2 separate regions of the Homo sapiens genome follow, and region 2 is linked to region 1. The links are contacts of gene promoters, found by promoter capture Hi-C in blood cells and fetal thymus (Javierre and others, 2016). All regions are on one chromosome and are shown on one strand. Each heading gives the region's core, a stretch centred on a gene start or on the middle of the fragment in contact. The rest is flanking DNA. Distances are from core to core; before and after follow the strand shown.

What was found. Contacts are between HindIII fragments. The CHiCAGO score rates a contact against its expected background, and 5 or more counts as called.
Region 2: a fragment that was not itself captured here is called in contact with the fragment with the promoter of PIWIL1 in region 1 in 1 of 17 cell types (naive B cells); the score reaches 5.6 in naive B cells.

What each region holds. Positions count from the first base shown.
Region 1 is chr12:130,335,557-130,341,215 of GRCh38, reverse strand. It overlaps PIWIL1 (piwi like RNA-mediated gene silencing 1), which reads right to left and starts at 3,329. Exons shown (of 21, transcript NM_004764.5): 1 at 3,070-3,329. LOC101927786 (a long non-coding RNA gene) reads left to right here and starts at 4,976. Exons shown (of 3, transcript XR_242978.5): 1 at 4,976-5,659. The HindIII fragment of the contact is 10,112 bases long and covers 1-5,659 here.
Region 2 is chr12:128,261,517-128,267,413 of GRCh38, reverse strand. It overlaps LOC107987176 (a long non-coding RNA gene), which reads left to right and starts at 382. Exons shown (of 2, transcript XR_001749176.1): 1 at 382-843; 2 at 3,641-4,467. TMEM132C (transmembrane protein 132C) reads right to left here and starts at 244. Exons shown (of 9, transcript NM_001136103.3): 1 at 1-244. The coding sequence starts at 11. RefSeq lists enhancers at 1-41, 577-1,098. The HindIII fragment of the contact is 693 bases long and covers 1,771-2,463 here.

The DNA.
Region 1 (5,659 bases), core at 2,080-4,579:
TGGAGGATTTCATGTGGGCAGGGAGCAGACTGCTCAGGGTCCTGCAGACAGCTTGGATACTCAACACATGAGAAACCATCCAAGGTTCTACATAGGGGCAGGCGATGACATCATCTACCATCACTCTGCCTTAAATCACATTATCTTTTTCATCCTCTGAGTTTTAACAGCTTCTAAAATTCTTGGCTTCATGATCTTCACAGAAAGATAAATCTAATGCCATTTTTCAATTTTAAAAACCTCCGACTTCCTATTGTATTTTACAGGATTAAAGCAAATATTCATTGTATAAGACCCCTTACAATATGACTCTAAATCAGCAATTTCCAAAGGAGTTTACACAGGATAATCCGCTGAGGTGCCAGCATATTACAACTAATTTTAAATCTCATTTTAAACTGCTTTGTATTTATTTTATAATGTGCGCATCATGACAATGATTACGTATGCATGCTCGGCTTACACACGGGGCATACTGGCGCATGAAAGTCTCTTACTGATAATCTACAGGCAGCGTCCCCAGCAGCAGCAGCAGCACCACCACCACCACCACCAACCCCCCTCCCCCCACCCCCCCTCCCCCAACCACCACCACCAACCCCCACGCCCCATGGACCTGTACCGGAACCAGGCCACACAGCAGGAAGTGAGCCGCAGTGAGTGAGCAGGACAGCCTGAGCTCACCTCCTGTTAGATCAGTGGAGGCATTAGATTCTCCTAGGAGTGAGAACCCTACTGTGAAGTCGGCGTGCCAAGGGTCTGGGCTGCCTGCTCCTTATGAGAATCTAATGCCTGATAATCCGAGGTGGAACCGTTTCATCCCGAAACCATCCCTCACCGGTCCGTGGAAAAATTGTCTTCCAGGAAATCGGTCCCTGGTGCCAAAAAGACTGGGGACTGCTGATCTACAAATCAATCTGAAAGCATCCGCTTGAGACTCCAGCAAACACAACTTGCTTCCTATCACTATCAATTCCGTGACTCACCCTACACCGTGGCACACCCTCTGCTAACAAAGCCTCACCCTCCTCTGAAACCACAAGAATCCAGTGAACCGCTTAAGGACCAGCTCGCAGGCCATCCCTTGCTCCCTTCTCCGAAAGCCGTTTCCCCGGCGTGACCACGGTCACCCTACTACATGGTAACCTGTTTTCTCCCTCCCCACATCTCTGCACTCCATAGCTTCTCCAACTAGGCTGCGAATCACAATTGATGCCTTTGCACCCAGTCCGTCGCTTGACACCTTACAAACAACGGTGTGAAACAGTGATTAAAAAACAGTGACAAGCTGAACTCTCATCTCCAGCAGGAAATATTCCTAAAGCAGCACGTCAGTTCTCAAAGCCTGGTCCCTGACGGGCAGCATCTGGACTGGCTGGGAACAGAAATTACGGGGTGGGGAGCGGCTCTCAGCCCTCCCGAGTTAGAAGCCGACTGGAAGCAGCCCTCCAGCTGATTCTCATCATCTCCAGGGCCTGAAACCCACGGCGGCGCGCTGTGCTGGTCACTAAATACCTGGGGGGCTCAGCGCTCTACGTCCAGGTTTCCCAGCACAACTCTGGTTTTCAGCTTTATCTCCTTCCAGTTTCAAAACCACCTCAGTCTGGATATTGAATTCTTAAAGTCAGAAAGCAAGTGTGTGCTTCCAATAACCACACTCGCTGGAAATCACCTCTCCGATTCGCTACCAGCTCTGCCAAAGACGCTTCCACCTAACGTCCCTCCGGCGCTGAGCTCAGGACCACGCCGTGCACGTGGGAACCACCACCGCGCCACACGCCTAAAAACCGTTGAGCGGTACATTCTATGCGAGCGGGGTCTCTCTGGCCACAACTTAAAAACGAAAAGAAAAGCGCTCAGAGAACAGGCTGCGCAGGGGTGCAGCCGGCTTTGCCCTGGAGGCCGCCGGGGCTGAAGACGGCGAGAGCATCCATCCCAGGACGCCACCGCCCCGCCGCCCCTTTCCCTCCACAGGTGCCAAGGGCCGGGCCGCCAGCACCCGCGAGGACCCCCGGGCCTCGCAGAGCCCGGCCGTCGCGGTCGCCGCCTCACTTGGGGTCCTCCGGAGTTCCGTCCTCTTCCCAACGTCCGGCTCCCAAGGCTCCCGGGGGCGCAGCGCAGCGGCGGCGGACGCGGGAAGGGGCCCTCGCCCTCCGCAGAGATCGCGCCCCGCGGCCGCGTGGGTAGTGCGGGAGGTCCCGAAGGCCCTCCTGCAGAGCTCTCAGGTCCCCGCAGTCTCACGCACGGCCGCCAATGCGGAGACCTCCGCCCCCGCACCCCCGGCAACTCAGGCCTCAGCCTCTCACCCCGGCCCCTGCACCTGGGACCTCGCCCCCGCACCCCGGCCCCTGCACCCCCGCACCCCGGCCCTACAGCCCCGGCAAGTCGGGCCTCAGCGCTTCCCCCCGGCCCCGCACCCCCCACACCTGATACATCGCCCCCGCACCCCGGCCCCTGCACCCCAGGCTCCTGCATCTCCCAAACCTGGGACCTCGCCCCCGCACCCGGCTCCTGCATCCCCCGCACCTGGGACCTCGCCCCCGCACCCGGCTCCTGCATCTCCCACACCTGGGACCTCGCCCCCGCACCCGGCTCCTGCATCCCCCGCACCTGGGACCTCGCCCCCGCACCCGGCTCCTGCATCTCCCACACCTGGGACCTCGCCCCCGCACCCGGCTTCTGCATCTCCCGCACCTGGGACCTCGCCCCCGCACCCGGCTCCTGCATCTCCCACACCTGGGACCTCGCCCCCGCACCCGGCTCCTGCATCTCCCGCACCTGGGACCTCGCCCCCGCACCCGGCTCCTGCATCCCTTGCACCTGGGACCTCGCCCCCGCACCCGGCTCCTGCATCTCCCACACCTGGGACCTCGCCCCCGCACCCGGCTCCTGCATCTCCCGCACCTGGGACCTCGACCCCGCACCCGGCTCCTGCATCCCCCGCACCTGGGACCTCGCCCCCGCAACCCGGTCCCCGCACCTCGAGCCTCACCTCCACATCCCGGACCCCCAGCCGCCGCCCCCGCATCCCGGCCCCCGCACACCTAGCACCTCAGCCTGGCCCCGCACCTTGGACCGCTGCCCTCGCCCTAGTCCTGGTCCTTGCACCTCAGCCCGAGGCCAACAGCCCCAACGGCTCCCGCGGAGATCCCTCCGCGCCGCCGACCTCCCAGGACCTCCTTCGGCCCGCGCCCACCTCGCCTTCGGCGCTGGGTTCCCGAGAGAGCCAGGGACACGCGGGCAGCGAGCAACAGGCGCTCTTTTCCCGGGCGGATGAACACCGCCTCCCGGGCGCCGGCCTCGTGTCTGTACGCCATACGCCCAGTAACGGCGGAAAGCGGCGCGCGCCACGCCCTCATTGGCTGCCCCGCAAACGGCGGTTTCTGATGTGGCCGGGGCGGGACCAGAGGAGCCCCGCCCCACAGGCCCCGGCCCCGCCCCTCCAAGACCCCGTCTGGCCCCTCCCGGACACCCGGCACAGGCCCAACAAGCCAGGCCCGCCCCGCCCCACAGGCCCTGCCCCTGGCCCCCCAAGACACCGCCTGGCCCCGGACAGACACCCCGCACATGCCCTGGCCCCTCCCCATAGGCCCCGCCCCCATCCCGCCAAGACCCCGCCTGGCCCTGCCTAGACGCCACGCCCAGGCCCCCACAGGCCCCGCCCCCGCCCCACAGGCTCCGCCCCTGTCCCCCCAAGACCCCGCCTGGCCCCGCCCAGACACCCAACACGTGCCCTGCCCCCTCCCCACAGGCCCCGGCCAGCCCCACCCAGGCCCCGCCCTGTTCCTCTTCTGCTTCGCCCAGACCCCCGGCCTTCCCTGGCTTGACTCCTGCAGTTCCCCCAGTGCCAGCCCCCTGCAGGCGGACACGGGGTCGGGCCAGTTCCCTACTAGCTCGTGGAACTGGGCGGCGGCGCACGAAGTAGACCCTCCATAGACTTCGAAATGGTGCCCACGTGGGCACCGAGCGCCCTACTGTAGCAGTGGACTCGATCTTGGTCTGGCCTTTAACGTCGGAAGCTCTTTCACTCAGCACACAGAGATTTGAACTTTGACCCCAAAGAAAATAAAACTGCAATGCAAGTCTAAGGTGCCAGGAGGCCGTTACCTGGAAATTTAGCTTTCAATGACTTGTGCCTTGGGTGCATGCCAACGTGGACCGCAGGGGTTCTCAGCCTTCACCTGCGGGGGATCACCTGCAGGGCTGGTTAGGACACAGACCAGAGATTCCGGTCTGCAGGCTCCACAGGTGGGCCCCGCCGGCTGCATTTCCAAGGCATCGCAGGTGGTAGCGACCGGGTCTACGCCGAGCTAGGTGCCCTCCATAGGAGTTAATTTCCTCATGGAGGCAAAGTCAACAGCCACAAAACAACCGGAAATATTGTAAGATAGAACAGGTTTATTTGTCAAGGTGGAAGTGGGACTGAGGCTCACTAACTGCCTGACCTGTTATGTTCCATAACTATAAACATGATTGTAGGAGGTAGTAGAAATAGGGTCGCCTCTGCAGACAGGTTTTAAAACTGCATTTATACGGTAAACATAGTGCTTTTCCTTTTTTTTTTTTGTGAGACGGAGTCTCACTCTGTCGCCCAGGCTGGAGTGCAGTGGCAGGATCTTGGCTCACTGCAACCTCCGTCTCCCAGCCTCCTGAGTAGCTGCGACTACAGGCACCCACCACCATGCCCACATAATTTTGTGTTCTTTGTTTTGTTTTGAGACAGGGTCTGGCTCTGTCAGGCTGGAGTGCAATGGTGGGATCATGGCTCCCTGCAGCCTCGACCTCCTGGGCTCAGGTGATCCTCCTGCCTCAGCCTCCCCTGTAGCTGGTACTACAGGTGTGTGCCACCTGTAGTAATTTTTTTGTATTTCTTGTAGAAATACGAGAAATACACCCAGCTAATTTTTTTGTATTTCTTGTAGAAAGAGGGTTTCATCATGTTGCCCAGGCCGGTCTCAAACTTCTGGGCTCAAGTGATCCACCCATCTTGGCCTCCCAATGTGCAGGGATTACAGGCATAAGCCACAGAGCCCGGCCTACATATTGCTTATTATTCATACTTAAAAGCGCATGCCTGGGAATCGGGGGCTGGAGAGGGCTGAAGGCTCCCCAAGCCACCTTCCCAAATCCTACGTCTCATCTGTGCCATGAAAGGGGCAGGTTAGATGTCAGCGTTTCCCACACTAGCCTGAGTGTAAGCATCCACTGAGGGAACTTCCAAATAATACAGACTCCCAGATCACGCTGATTCCAGGAGGTCTGGGACGGGTGCAAGGAATTTCAAGAAGTAACATCAAGTTATTCTTATGCTCAGAGAAGGCTAATAAATTTGGGGCGAGGCCAAAAGGCGTTGGAAGCCAGTAGTTTGAAAGAAAAATAGCTTTCCAAAGGCTTTCGCTTTGTAAAAACTAAATGGTGCCTTTTGGAATACAATGTGAACATAACTTTTCCAAGGATTTAAGGTGTTGATGAGAAAGACATTCTGAGACCTGCCAGCAGATGGAGCCATAAAACAAGAAATAGATGTTTACAGCCTCAACTCGGGAGAAAAATACCGTGAATGCACCTTACACTATAGAAGTAACACTTTTCCCTCTGCTTTATTTTCTCTATATGCTAAACTCCTTACTTGCCTCTGCTAAAGAACATCGCTGGAGTG
Region 2 (5,897 bases), core at 868-3,367, 2.1 Mb after region 1:
TCGGAGCGCATCCTGCGTCCCGGCCGCTCACGCAGCCCGCCGCCAGCCCGAAGCGCAGCGCCCGCCCGCGGCCCCCGCCGGCCGCCCCATGCCCGGGGCCACTCCCGCAGCCCGGTCGGCCGGGCCCGCTGCGTCTCTGCTGTCCGAGGCCCGCCCCTGCCGGGTCCACGCCGCCGCAGCTCCGGCTCTGGCTCTGGCGGCTCCGGCTCCGCCGCTGCTCGCGCTCCGGCCGGGACAACTTTTCTCCCGCAGCCTCCGCAGCCTCCGCAGCCGCCGGCCCGCCCCGCCCCCGGCCCCGCCCCCGCCCCCGCCCGGGCCCCGCCCCCGCCGAGCCCCGCGACCGCGGACAGATTGAGGGTGCGGTAGGAGAGAGTTCGCCTGCCCGCCGGGAGGGGCGGCAGATGGAGAACCCCCCCGCCCGGGCTAGGGAGGGTGTGCCCGGGAAAGAAGACCGGGAGAGGAGGGGGCGTCTCCCCAGGCGGCTGGGACGGCTCCTCCGGGGGTCCGCGCCTTTCCAGAGAAACTCAGCGTTCGCAGACTCCTGCCCGGGTGCCCAACGGACAGCGGCCCGTGGCCCGGAGGGTCCTGCCCAGGGACCCGACGCTCAAGGCGGAGCTGGACTCCTTCTCCCCACCCTCCCGTGGTCACTGCGGGACCTGGTGGTCGTCACGCCCCATTCCTCAACTTCAGGTGGCCGCTGCTTTAGCCTGGAGGGCTGGGGACATCTGGAATGCAAAGTCCCGCGCAGCTGCTGCGGGGAGAGCTCCTAACTGGATCACTGAGCGCGGAAAAGCAGCGCGCAGCGGAGCGTGAAGGCGGGGTGCGGGCTCAAGACAGATGCGGGTGTGCACCTGTGCGTGTGCGGAGGGGGCGAGGCACGAGATCACAGCGGTGTCTCTGGGAAGGGGACGAGAACGCAGAGGGGAAGAAAGGATCATTTTTCACTGCATGTCTGTGGGGCTTCCACTCCCCAATCATCTCCCCGCCGCCCATAGCATGTGTTTTATTATCTTTTCAGTGGGTGGAGAATAGCCCCTCTCTAGACTTGCTCCTGCAATAGGCAATTTCTCTGCAGACTCAGACAAGGAAGATCCGCCCTCCCCCCCCCCCCCCCGACTTCGTTCTCTCTATCTTTTCCCTCTGATTTCTCCAGGGCTGGCCTCCCTCATGGTGGTGATCCCAGGTGATCTCAGCGGCTTCCCTGTGCGGTTCCTGATGCTCATGCTCTGCTCTTTCTGCCACGCGTGGTCTGAGCAGTTTGAGGGCGGGACCCCGACTCCCCCCTTGTGACTGGGAATGAAGGGCCATGGGTTCGGAGGTCTCTGGACGTCCCCTCCTGTCCTGAGCTCCTCACCACGGGCTCAGCATCCCCTCTCACCGTGGGCTGGCTCGGTCCAACATCAAAAGGAAGCCTGAGGGGTCTTTTCTCACCATCAGTGCAGGAAAGAATTTCAAAAGAAAAAAAGAAGTCCTTGATTGAAAGAAAAGAAATGTAAACGAATGATCCCCAGCAACTGCAACCCCAAGTCTTATCTCCCAACTCAGCCCCTAAGGAATGAGCCAGGCATAAGGAGAAATTGGGGCGGGGTGGGGCGAAGGCTTTGCAGGGCACTGGCCAGAGTGGGAGGCTCTCTCCTGGGGTGGGGCCCGGAAGTCTGGGCCAGGCTGGGGGGAGATGTCTCCCTGGTTTTCTTGGCCGGCTCTACTCACATGATGTGAGGAGAAGGCAGCTTGAAAACTATCCAGGCCCCAAAGGGAACGGTAAAAGCTTGATTCTCATAGGCCTGGATAGCAGAGACTTGATTTTTAAAGTGGATTATGCTGATAATCGCCCAATTCTTCAGTACATTCAGCTAGTGTAGACCTGACCTTGGGGGCAGGGGGCAGTTGTAAAGTAGATTTGGGCTCCTAAAACGGAAGGTACGTTTTATTCTCAGTGCTTTGAGCCTGAACATCACCGGGGAATAATTTTTTTTTCATTTAAATGTTCCCAGCATGAGGGAGAAATACACATGTCCCATTGTTTGTAACTGAGGATGGGAATCTGCCTTATCCTCTCTCCTCCCTATTGGATAACAGGGACAAAAAATAAAAACCCAAAGAAGTGCCCTCCACTCCCCTGTTCTATGCAGCCTCATAATGTACCTTCTTTCCACATCATTTCTTTCCTTTTGGCACAGAACATTGCTGTCCCTACTGCAAAGACAAGTCAGGTCCTGGACTACATCTCTGTGATGCAAATAATCAAAACCAGGGGCTACCAAACAAGCCACAGCAAAATAAATACTAATTCAACATGGGGTTGGAGTGGGGAAAGGATTCTCAATCAGATAAGCTCACTGCACAGCACCCCAAAGGCAGCCACTGTCTTCAGGTGATCCTGAATCACAGATGCCCCTTGAGACTATGATGCCTCCGGGCATCCCCTGTGAGAGCCTTCAGGAGACCCAGCAAATGAAAGCTTCTCTGCAAACCTTCCTTTAGGACTCCATTTAATCTATTGCGTGTCCCTCTCAAGAGCAGTCAAACAAACATGCACACAAAACTGAACAAACAAATAAAACAGATGATATAGTCAATTTCTCTTTCATAGGTAAATCCACAAAAATTGAGGTTCATGGGCTAATAAAGTTTTCTGTATTTATTTTTTTTAAGTCATGTATCATTTAACCCCCAAATCATTAATTCCTTAACTTAGATTACTTCCAGATGGTTTTCTGAATTTCATAAGGAACATCAGAGGCTTCTAATCTCCTCAAAGGCTGTTGCAGAATTCCTTAAGGACTGTGGGCACATGGAAGCACTTAACATAATTTATGGGAGAGGAGAATGATTGGAAAGAGGAAACCTGCTGCTTCCACAGGGTTTCAGGGTTCCTAAGTCAATGAGGCAACTTCAGATTGTTTTGTTCATGCTTAAATGTTAAATTGTGAATATCGCATAAAATGAGGGGTGGAACTTGTGATTTTAGTTCAAAGGCTTCTTGCATTGTCTACCTGTAGACGGGACATATGGGTATATATTGCCGAGGACATGGAAAAGAAAGGCTATATGTTGGCCTCATGAAACAGCTATGGTCATCCCGCAAACTGAGTATCAAGTCCTGACTATGGTGCTTACTATTAGCGATTAAAAAATGAGGAAGAAGGAAAAAAGGGAGAAAAATGATAGAAAGGTCTATGCTTAGTTCTGTGTCCTGTCATTGTTCTTAAAACATATAGGCACTATCTGATTTAATCCTCTTCACACTCGTGGGGTGTATTATTATTATCCTTGGACATTTTATTCATTCATTCATTCATTTAACAAATAGGTGTCACTTGCTTACTATTTGTCAGGCCCAAATTTTGGGGTTTTGCCAGTGAACAAAATAGACGAGAGTCCTAAATTCATGGACCTTACATTCTAGTGGAGGATGCAGACTCTAAAGTAATATACAAGTAATTGTATCTGTTAATGCAGTGATATGTGTTGTGAACAAAAATAAAGCAAAATAAGGGAAAAGTCTGATTTGGGGGTGCAACTTTAGGAAGGTGGGTGAAGTGAGAGCAATTTTTGGGAAAAGAGCTTCTCAGGCTGATAAAAATGAAAGTGCAAAGACACTAAGCTGGAGTCCTGAAAGGTCTTATTTTTCTTTCAGAAGGATCACTCTGGCCAATTGTAGACCACAGCCTATAGGAGTAGCCAAGGAAGCCTGAAGTCTAATTAAGAGCTGGTTCAAGGCACCCAGGAGTCTTGGATGCTTGCACTGGAGTAAGAGGAGCAAAGCTGTGAAGTCGAGACAAGGACCAGTTAATGATGCCTAGTGGAAGTGAAGCCAGCAGGATGTGCTGATGGATGGGTGTGGACTGTGGGAGGGAAAGAAGAGGCCACTGTTTTGGCCCAAACAACTGGGTACCTGAGGGTTCTCTTTATGGAGGTGAGGAAGAGAGGGGGTGAGTGACCTTGGTTGGTACATTGGTACAGATGAGGAAACTGAGGCTCATAGAGGAGATTAAGCCACTTGCTGGTATGTGACAGCCCATACATTGAAAATCAGCTCTCTGCACCCCCTGGAAGGAGCCGGGCCAGTTTATGACCACCAACCCTAAGGCAAATTGAGTATTGCATTGGTACGAACCGTAAGCCATATGTCATCCCCTCTTTCATTAACTCCAGGTCTAAGTCTGGCTAAGGTAGAGAGGAGTCAGAGGTGTGGAATGTAGAAATAATACATTCTTCCTCTCTCCGTGTGGATAAAGATTCCAGCCTTTATTCCATCTAATGAAAATATATTTAGGGAACATTTATTGGGGGCCATTCGCTGTCTGCCCTTGTTCCTTTATTTGTTTGCTTGCTCATTCCTCGTTCCATGTCAACTCCATGAGGGGACAATGTCTGACGTGCTCACCCCTGTATTCCTATCCCCTAAAACAAGTGTGTATGTGAAGATAAGTCCTTGTCCAATGAATGAATACTGTAAATCCATAGACTATTAGCCCTACTTTACTAATGAGGAATCTCAGAATCACTCATTTTACCTTTAGTTCATTTAGCTGTTAATAGTGATGATGATGATAATAACAATTAACATTTATTAGGTACTTCCTAATTGCCAAATATCTCATTAACAACCCTATGAACATGTACTCTTGTTATCTCCAGTTCACACATAAGAAAACTGATGTCAAAGAAGTGAAGTGGCTAGTTCAATGCCACTCATCTAGGAAGTGGTTGAGCTGGGATTCAATCTAGACCATCTGACTTCAAAGTCCACATTCGCAACCATTCACTAGACTGATAGGTGTGTGCTCAGGTGTGCCTGTTTCCTACACCAGATGTCTAGGAAACTTGTGTTAGGTCTCACTTGCTAGGTCTCTCTTTGTGTCAGGTTTCACTTGTTGGGCCCTTTTATTTTAAACAAGCACTGAAGAATTGTCCCTTTGTAACTTCCACTTACCATCCCAGACAACCTCTTGAGACCCTTGTGCTTCTCTGGCACTGCTACTTGAACTCAGCCTGTATGGAGCTTAATCGACCCTGAAGAGGACATGGGCCCAGCATCCCTAGATAAGATGCAAGATGCAGGTGACTTTTGGCCTGTGAAAACAACTTTTAAGAGTGATGCTCAAATGCCCATACCTGCTTATCATCCCATTCTCCACGTGGTACCTGTTGGATGCCCAGACTCCTCTCACATTTGTGGTTAAGACCCACAGAGTAGAATCTCTACCCTTCACCCTTCCGCTAGGGTTCAAGGCCAGCAAATGATCAATTTACTATAGGAATTAGGTTAACGAAGCTTCGGATTAGGTTACAAATGGAAGTAATCACACTGGTATTTCCTTAACTGTATTTGCATCATCATCATCATCACCATTATCACCATCATCATCATCACCATCATCATCACCATCACTATCATCATCACTATCACCATTATCACCATCATCATCACCATTATCATCATGATCATCATCATCATTATCACCATCATCATCACCACCACCACCACCATCATCATATCATCATCACCATCACCATCATAATTACCATCACCATCACCATCATCACCATTACTATTATCATCACCATCACCATCACGATCACCATCATCATCATCTCTAACACTTGCAGATTCCTTACTCTGTCCCAGGCACTGTCTTAAGTACTTTGACAGGTGTGGACTCATTTAATCCTCACAACAGTCCTATGACATTACTTTTGTTATTAACCCCACTTACACATGAGAAAATTGAGATACAGAGTTTAGGAGACTTACCCAATGTCACGGAACAACTAATTGGCAGAGCTGGTATTCAAACTCAACTCTCCCACCATAGACTCCTTGCTCTAAATAGACAATTCTCAGACTTTCCTGTGTATACACGTGACCAAGGGAACTTGTTAAAATGCAA